Linked DNA regions of Homo sapiens: region 2 is linked to region 1. The links are contacts of gene promoters, found by promoter capture Hi-C in human tissues and cell types (Jung and others, 2019). All regions are on one chromosome and are shown on one strand. The core of a region is centred on a gene start or on the middle of the fragment in contact, and the rest is flanking DNA. Distances in the headings are between cores, read along the strand shown. Region 1 holds the start of KCNJ13 (potassium inwardly rectifying channel subfamily J member 13). Region 2 has its middle 11 kb from the start of GIGYF2.

What was found. Contacts are between HindIII fragments. The study calls those that stand out against the background at their distance.
Region 2: a contact is called between a fragment that was not itself captured here and the fragment with the promoter of KCNJ13 in region 1, in 2 of the 25 tissues and cell types used here (mesenchymal stem cells and spleen).

The regions. Positions count from the first base shown.
Region 1 is chr2:232,774,823-232,778,857 of GRCh38, reverse strand. It overlaps KCNJ13 (potassium inwardly rectifying channel subfamily J member 13), which reads left to right and starts at 2,293. Exons shown (of 3, transcript NM_002242.4): 1 at 2,293-2,413. The region is part of intron 8 of GIGYF2 (GRB10 interacting GYF protein 2); the gene reads right to left. The HindIII fragment of the contact is 9,389 bases long and covers 1-4,035 here.
Region 2 is chr2:232,684,110-232,688,144 of GRCh38, reverse strand. No RefSeq gene overlaps it. Among named protein-coding and RNA genes, the nearest start is that of GIGYF2, 11 kb to the left of the region's middle. The HindIII fragment of the contact is 4,802 bases long and covers 1-4,035 here.

The sequences.
Region 1 (4,035 bases), core at 1,044-3,543:
TTTTCAATACCTGAAAGACTTTATCTCAATAACTAGACAACTTTTGTTCATCATACATTTCCTCCCCTCATTTTCCCACAGCTTGTCAATACCTTCCCCCAGGACCTCCACATCCCTATTCCAATGCTATAAGAACTTCAATCATCTGGTCCTTCCTCAAGTCTCATGTTTTGTGGGACTCTTGTGCATAAGGATGTAAACTGTTTTTCTTCTGTTAAGTCTACCTACTGTTGCTTTATATTATAGACTCAATTATCAAACCTTCAAAAGGAAGAGAGAAGGTCTTCTCTCTCCCCTACACCAGCTAACCTGGTAACTTCAACCAGAAATGACTTTAAATGCTCAGGCTATTGTAATGGGAGAGCTATGCTCCTAAGTGGGCACTTCAGAGCTGGTCTACAATATTCACAGCAGTAGGAATCACTGTTTATAGACCATAGCAAGACTTTCAAATTGTAGAGATCCAGAAATTAGCTTCACTTAAGACATTTCTTTCTTAATTGAAGATCATTTTGCCAAATCATTTTTGTCTCAATATATTGAAACCAAGTATACTATGGAAAAAGACTTTTAAGTTTAATAAAATCCTTAACTGTCTTGCCTACTATAATATGTATTCTCAGGCCAGGTGAAGTGGCTCATGCCTGTAATCCCAGGAATTTGGGAGGCTGAATTGAGAGGACAGCTTGAGCCCAGGAGTTCAAGACCAGCCTAGACAACACAGCAAGACCCTGCCTCTACAAAAAATAAAAAATTAGCCAGATGTGGTGGCATTACTGCAGGGGGTGGGGGATGAGGTGGGAGGATCACTTGAGCCTGGGAGGTCGAGGCTGCAGTGAGCTGTGATCACACCACTGCACTCCAGCCTGGGTGACACAGCAAGACTCTATGTCTAAAAAAAATGAAAATAAAAAATATACAATGTATATTCAAAACACATGACAGATACACTCAAGTGCTTCTGCTTTCTAGAAGCAGTATTATACTATACTTGTTCTAGTATTTTGTTGTTGTGTTGTTCTGTTTTTCTGCAATTTGTTAGCTGGGAATTGATACACATTATAATTCCTACCAGTACATGCAGGGAATGAGCATCACACCACAAATCCTTCTTTATACTTTACCTTCCCTAGTTCTGAAGGTCAGTGTTTCTAATGCTGTGTCTGAACTTGTGTTGAAGTATTTGGTACTAATAAAACAAAGAAGGAATTAATATATTTTTTAAATTGTGGGGCGGGGGGGGGACGGAGAGGATTCTACAAAGGCGGATTTCACTTTCTAAGTAGCATTATATTGGTCTACATTAATAATTTTCCCAGCAGGCCTTCCAAGATTTTACTTTGAACAATCACAGTCTTTGTTTCTCAGATCCTCTTACATGTGACATTTGGTCAAAGTTTTAAAATCAGCAGCTAACGGAGGAGGAGAAAAGTACTGTTCACTAAGGCACTGCACAAAGCCATACCACAGCACGTTTCAGGGTTCCAACAAGCTGGATCACATTTTCCAGCTAAACACTATTTCAATGTTGTGTTACATTTTCTGTACACTGTACACTATGTTTTATTAACACTATACTTCATCACACTGATCAGGAAAACATCTTCTAAACATCATTAAAATAAGCCTTAAGAAAATTCTTCGGTTCTTTCCCACAGGTGTGCATTTTTTAAAGTATCAGGTACAGAACAATTAATTTTATTCCTATTCAAGGTCTTTGTATACAGCCTTTAAAAAAAAAAAGTTTGTTTCCTAACCAAAAAAATAAAAGATTTCACGTAATTATCTATATTACTAGTTCTGGAACTAATGGTAGCCATTCTGATGAGACATGAGAAGAAAACTAAGAAAATCAATGCATTAATTTATGCCTATAAGTCCTTATCCAAATAAATCTTCCCCAAAGACATGGTGGAAAAAAAAAAAGATTAGTAAAGGAAATATCTCACACTTCAACATGCTATATAAGGAAAGACGGCTGAAAAATCTTGCAGGGAATTTTATCCCTTTGAACTTTCAAAAAAACTCTTAAGTAAGATTATGCAAACTTACTAAAGACCGGTCCTGATTAGAGGGAAAAAATGCACCCCTTCTCCAAGTCAGTTCTGGAGGCTTTCTCCAGAGTTGTTAAGGTTTGTGTTGGGTAAAGAAAGACCTCCTAACAAACCAGCATTCTTTTCCACATGATCAGAGCTAATTGGCCCCCCTGCAGGCTAAGTGACCAATCACATCAACCTCAGCTGAAACCAGCCCCCACAACATTATAAACAGAGGAATGTAAGCTGTAAAACCAGTCCAAGAAGAGAACCTACAAACTAGACTTGTAGATTAAAATTATCTGATCAAAAAGGCAGACTCTGTAAATTTCCTTAAGACCTACCTTGGCATAAAGGCTGACCCAGCAAAAGAACTGGTGAGTACATGCAATAATATCCATTCTTCTTTCCTTATGGGAAACAGGGAAAGAAACTGACTGGCAAATAGCAACAGAGCTAGATTACTTCCAACAGATTTTTAAAACAAAGACATTATCTATAGTGTAGGATAGTAAGGTTTCTATATTCTTTTCCCTTAAATCTTAAAAATGCAATAACAGCCATATTGAATGTATTACTGGAAATTTTCTTAACTGTTTTATTAAATGTATACTAATTTTCTATTACAATATATCAGTAGAGGATAAAGGCCTTAGGAAAAAAAATTCAGTGGCTTGAGGAAAAAAAAAGTCTTTTTCTTTTGGAAGGAATTTCAAAAACCCAAAATGAGCATAAAAAAACAAATGCCAAAAGAATAAGCCACTTTGTTTTTACTTCTGTAATCTAAGAAGAAAGTGATGAGTATCCTAATCGTAAATTTTTAAGCATGGAATTATTGCGGAAATTAATAGATACTTCTGCAACTGAGAAATTAAAATAGAATCTCTGAGCTTATATAACAGGGTTAGAACTCAATAGTGTTTGCCCTAATTGTGGAGGGCAGGAGAAATCATTATAAGACTTTCAATATAGTCTTAAAGTATTTACACCAGACATGAACAAATACATAGTAATGCCATCTTCATTTAATGTTTGTTAGTTATAGCCTTTATCTTAACTCCTCAGTATGAACTATACTATTTTTTATCATGGCAACAGAAAATACATACTTTTAAGTGCTACAACCCAATGAGTAGAATGAATTCTGATGATCAGTGAAGCTGCCTATCATTTTTTAATAGGTACTATTTTTCCTCCAAATAATTTATAAATGGGCAAATATTTTACAGCCCACACACAGCAATAGAAGCAAACCTTCCCAACCTTCCACCTCACTTTCTATTGGGATCAGCTGATGAGACTTAAATATCAGGTAACAATAGTATAATTTTTTAAACCATACGAGCAGACATCAAACTATACAGAAATAAAAGAAATCATATAGGAAACTTGTATCCTTTGTAGGAAGTGGAAATATGTTTGTTTACATAAGTCTGTAGAGCTTTAAGAAATCTTATTATCATAATTCCCTCTTTTTTCACTTTCTTTGTTTTAATCTAAGGATGCCAGGCCAATGGGATTGAGTGGTTTGCCCAAAATGACACAGCTATGTAACCAACAGTGCTAGAGCCTGAAGGCCATATCCCCTTATCCTGCGTTCTCTACACTAAACCACACTGACTATAAGAGTCCACAGAATAGTTATTCAGGGTAATTGGTTAAGTGGGAATCAGAAATCAATCTTCCTTCTCTATATTACTCCACTTGCCAACACAATCCAAACCAAATCCAGCAGTCTTAGGTTAAAAAAAAAAAAATGCTGCTTAACTGTTCCGATTATCAGCCTTTTGACTTCCCTGTTCACAGGTTTTTCCATGTATTTAGTTGCAAGAGAAAAAAAATACAATTGTAAAGAGCCTAGAGTAAGAGTGCTACAAAAGTTGTAGGTAAGAAGTAACAACAGTCCTGAAAAAGCCCAAATGAGAATGATGAATTTTGTTAGCTACAGTCTATACAGAAAGGCTCTAAGTAAGGAATTTTAGAACTTTCATAAAATAGG
Region 2 (4,035 bases), core at 593-3,092, 90 kb after region 1:
TGCCGTGTTGGCCAGGCTGGTCTTGAAGTCGTGGGCTCAAGCAGTCCTCCTGCCTTGGCCTCCCAAAGTGTTGGGATTACAGGACCCAGAAGGCATCATTCTTGTATAGTACTGTCAGTCCAAGTGGGCAGTGATGTGCCAGCATCTGGCCTCGTGGACAGGCAGAGTCAGCAAGGAGAAATCTGAGCAGCGACAAAACCACAGCTGTCAGACCACATTCAGTAACTGGCAGCCGCCAGGAGCATGCAAGTGAGCCAGCAGATGGGCAGAAATTCCCCTGGGCTGGTCAGAAAAGGGGTCTCAAAATAACAGAGAACATGGGTCCGTGGGCATCTGCACTTGTGGCCAAGACAGCAGCCAGGACTGAGCACTTCTGGGCTACCCTGGCCTGAGACTCTTGGACCTAACTGTAGAGACTCAGGGCGCAGGAGGAGACAGAGTTACAGTAGTGGAGGGAGGGAGGGGAGAGAGAGGAACCCGTGTGTCCTGAGCACTAAATATATGGCAGGCGTGGAATCTGCCAGGTAGGTCACCATCATGCCCATTTTACAGGTGAGAAAATGGAGGCTCAGTGAGGTTCAGTTACTTGCCTAGTGTTCGAGTCCAAATTTCGTTAGATCACACAGCCTCCAGGGCCTAGGCAAGACTAATTGGTGTGTTGTTTTTCCTATTGCTCAGTCAAAGGAGGGCCCTGGGGAGTGACCTCTCTCTCTTCCAGTGAGAAAGATATTCTCACAAGCTCTGCTGTCTCCACTTTCCTGTCTTTTCTTTTCTTTTCTTTTCTTTTCTTTTTTTTTTTTTTTTTTTTTTTGAGGTGGAATTTCGCTCTTATTGCCCAAGCTGGAGTGCAAGTGGCACAATCTCGGCTCACTGCAATCTCCACCTCCCGGTTTCAAGCAATTCTCCTGCCTCAGCCTCCCAAATAGCTGGGATTACAGGCATGCACCACCATGTCCAGCTAATTTTGTATTTTTAGTAGAGACGAGGTTTCTCCATGTTGGTCAGGCTGGTCTCGAACTCCCGACCTCAGGTGATCCACCCGCCTCGGTCCCCCAAAGTGCTGGGATTACAGGGGTGAGCCATCACACCCAGCCAGTCTCCACTTTCAGAGCTGGCCCCTCAGGCTCTCATGGTGGAGTACTCAGAAGTCTCTGACATCAGTGGTAATGATCCTGCCTTGCCCATCTGTCTGCTTTAACAAACCTGGCATGTCCTTGTGAAACCAACATGCAAGGTTGCCTGCTACATGCCACGCAGCATGCTGGGCCTATAGCAATAGGCAAGGCAAACTTCCTGCCCTGCAAAGAGTACACAGTCCAAACAGCGGGGCTGAGAAGTAAGGAGATGGCTACTGCCTCAAGCTGTCAGGATTACAGTAGAGAGAAACTCAGGGAAATGGGAGCCCTGAGAAGGGACACCTTACCTGGCCTGGAAGCATCAAGGAAGCTTCCTGAAGATAATCTCTGAGCTGAGTCTTCAACAGTGAGAAGTAATCCACCTGTGGAAGGGAGGGAGGGAGTGCCAGGCAGAGGAAACCACATATGCAAAAGCCTGGAGGTGTGGAATTTTCTAGGAACAGTTAGGCATCGCATATACCAGGAGTGTAGAGTTTGGAAGGAGACAGGGCAGGGAGGAGGGACAAAAGATGGAGTTGGAGGGATGAGTTGGGGCCAGCTCCTGCAAGTGGGGAATCAAAAATTGAAGGAGAGATGTTAAGAACTGGTTTGCATTTTCTAAGAATTACTCCAGCTGCAAAGCGGACAATCAGGTATAATGAGGGCAGAGAAACCAATGAGGAGCTCACGGTAGAGACCCAGGAAGGAACCTATGAAGGTCTGAGCTGTGACCATGGCGCTGGAGATGGAGGGTGGGAGGCACAAGGGAGCGGCCTCCCGGGGACTCTGTGGCCAAGAGGGAGGAACGACATCCTCTACCTGGCCTTTGTAGTGACATGGCCCCACGTGTCCTGTTTTGTCTGAAGTCCTTTCGTGTTGGATTTTCTATTGCTTGCAATCAGAAGTTGTTTCTATTGCTTGCAATCAAAAGTTTTATTTATTTATTGTTCATTTTTATTTTTTGAGACAGTGTCACCCAGGCTGGAATGCAGTGGTGTGATCTCGGCTCACTGCAACCTCCGCCTCTTGGGTTCAAGGGATTCTCCTGCCTCAGCCTCTCGAGTCGCTGGGACTACAGGCACACGCCACCACGCTCGGTTAATTTTTTTGTATTTTTAGCAGAGATGAGGTTTTGCCATGTTGGCCAGGCTAGTCTCAAACTCCTGACCTCAAGTGATCCACCTGCATTAGCCTCCCAAGGTGCTGGGATTACAGGCATGAGTCACTGCGCCCAGCCTTATTTATTTATTTTTATTTTCACAATTTGTGACAAGCAATCGAGAGTTTTAGCTCTTATGTGGGCCCACTTGTCCAGAAAGGCAAACGGATGCTTCAAGTAAATGACACTGCTATCTCCATTCTCTTCCTTCTTTTTAAATGAATAGCCTTTTTTTCTCGTCTCCTTCACCATTAGACTTTATTATTTATTTATTTATTTATTTATTTATTTATTTATTTATCTTTTTGAGATGGAGTCTTGCTCTGTCATCCAGGCTGGAGTACAGTGGCACCATCTCACCTCACTGCAACCTCCGCCTTCCAGTTTTCAAGCAATTCTCCTGCTTCAGCCTCCCGGGTAGCTGGGATTACAGGCGTGCACCACCACTCCCAGCTAATTTTTTGTATTTTTAGTAGAAACAGGGTTTCACCATGTTGGCCAGGCTGGTCTCGAACTCCTGACCTCAGGTGATCCACCCACCTAGGCCTCCCAAAGTGCTGGGATTACAGGCATGAGCCGCCACCACGCCCACCCTAGACTTTATTTTTTAGAGAAGTTTTAGGTTTACAGAAAAACTGAGCCAAAAGTACATGTTCCCATGTACCCCTCTCACCCTAACTCCCCATTCCCTATTATTATGTTATATTAATGTGGTATATTTGTTACAATTGATATGCCCATATTGATGCATTATTAAACTCCATAGTTAATATTAGGATGCATTCTTTTTTTTTCCTTTTTGAGACAGGCTCTCAATCAGTCATCCAGGCTGGAGTGCAGTGGCATGATCCTGGCTCACTGCAACCTTCTCCTCCTGGGCTCAATCCATCCTCCCACCTCAGCCTCCTGGGTAGCTGAGAGCACAGGCGCATGCCACCACACTTGGCCTTTTTTTTTTTTTTTTTTGAGACAGGGTCTCATTCTGTCACCCAGGTTGATGTGCAGTGGCACGATCTCAGTTCACTGCAACCTCCACTTCCTGGGCTCAAGCTATCCTCCCACCTCAGCCTCAGCCTCCCAAGTAGCTGGGACCACAGATGCCTGCCACCATGCCCAGCTAATTTTTTTGTATTTTTGATAGAAATGGGGTTTCACTATATTGCCCCAGCTGGTCTCAAATTCTTGAGCTCAAGCAATCCCTCTGCCTCAGCCTCCCAAAGTGCTGGGATTACAGGCATGAGCCACCGCTCCCGGCCAAGCTTGGCGTTTTAAAAGTTTTTTGGTAGACACAGGATCTAACTATATTGCCCAGGCTGGTCTCAAACCCCTGAGCTTGAGTGATCTTCCTGCCTCCACCTCCCAAAGTGCTGGGATTCCAGGCATGAGCCACTGCACTCAGCCTAGGGTGCATTCTTTGTGTTGCACATTCTATAGGTTTTGACAAATGTATAAGACATTCATCCACCAGCATCGATAGCATCATGGAGAATAAGTTTCATTGCCCTAAAAGTCCTCTGTGCTGCGTTTATTCATCCCTCCCTCTCTCCTCGCTGACAACCATTGATCTTTTCAATGTCTTCACACTTTTACCTTTCCTAGGATGTCATACCATAGTTGGTATCAAATAGCATATAGCCTTTTCAGATTAGTTTTTTTTTTTGAGATGGGGTCTCACTGTGTTACTCAGGGTGCACTCAAACTCCGAGGCTCAAGTTATCCTTCCTCCTCAGCCGTGAGCAGCTAGAACTATGAGCAAGCGTC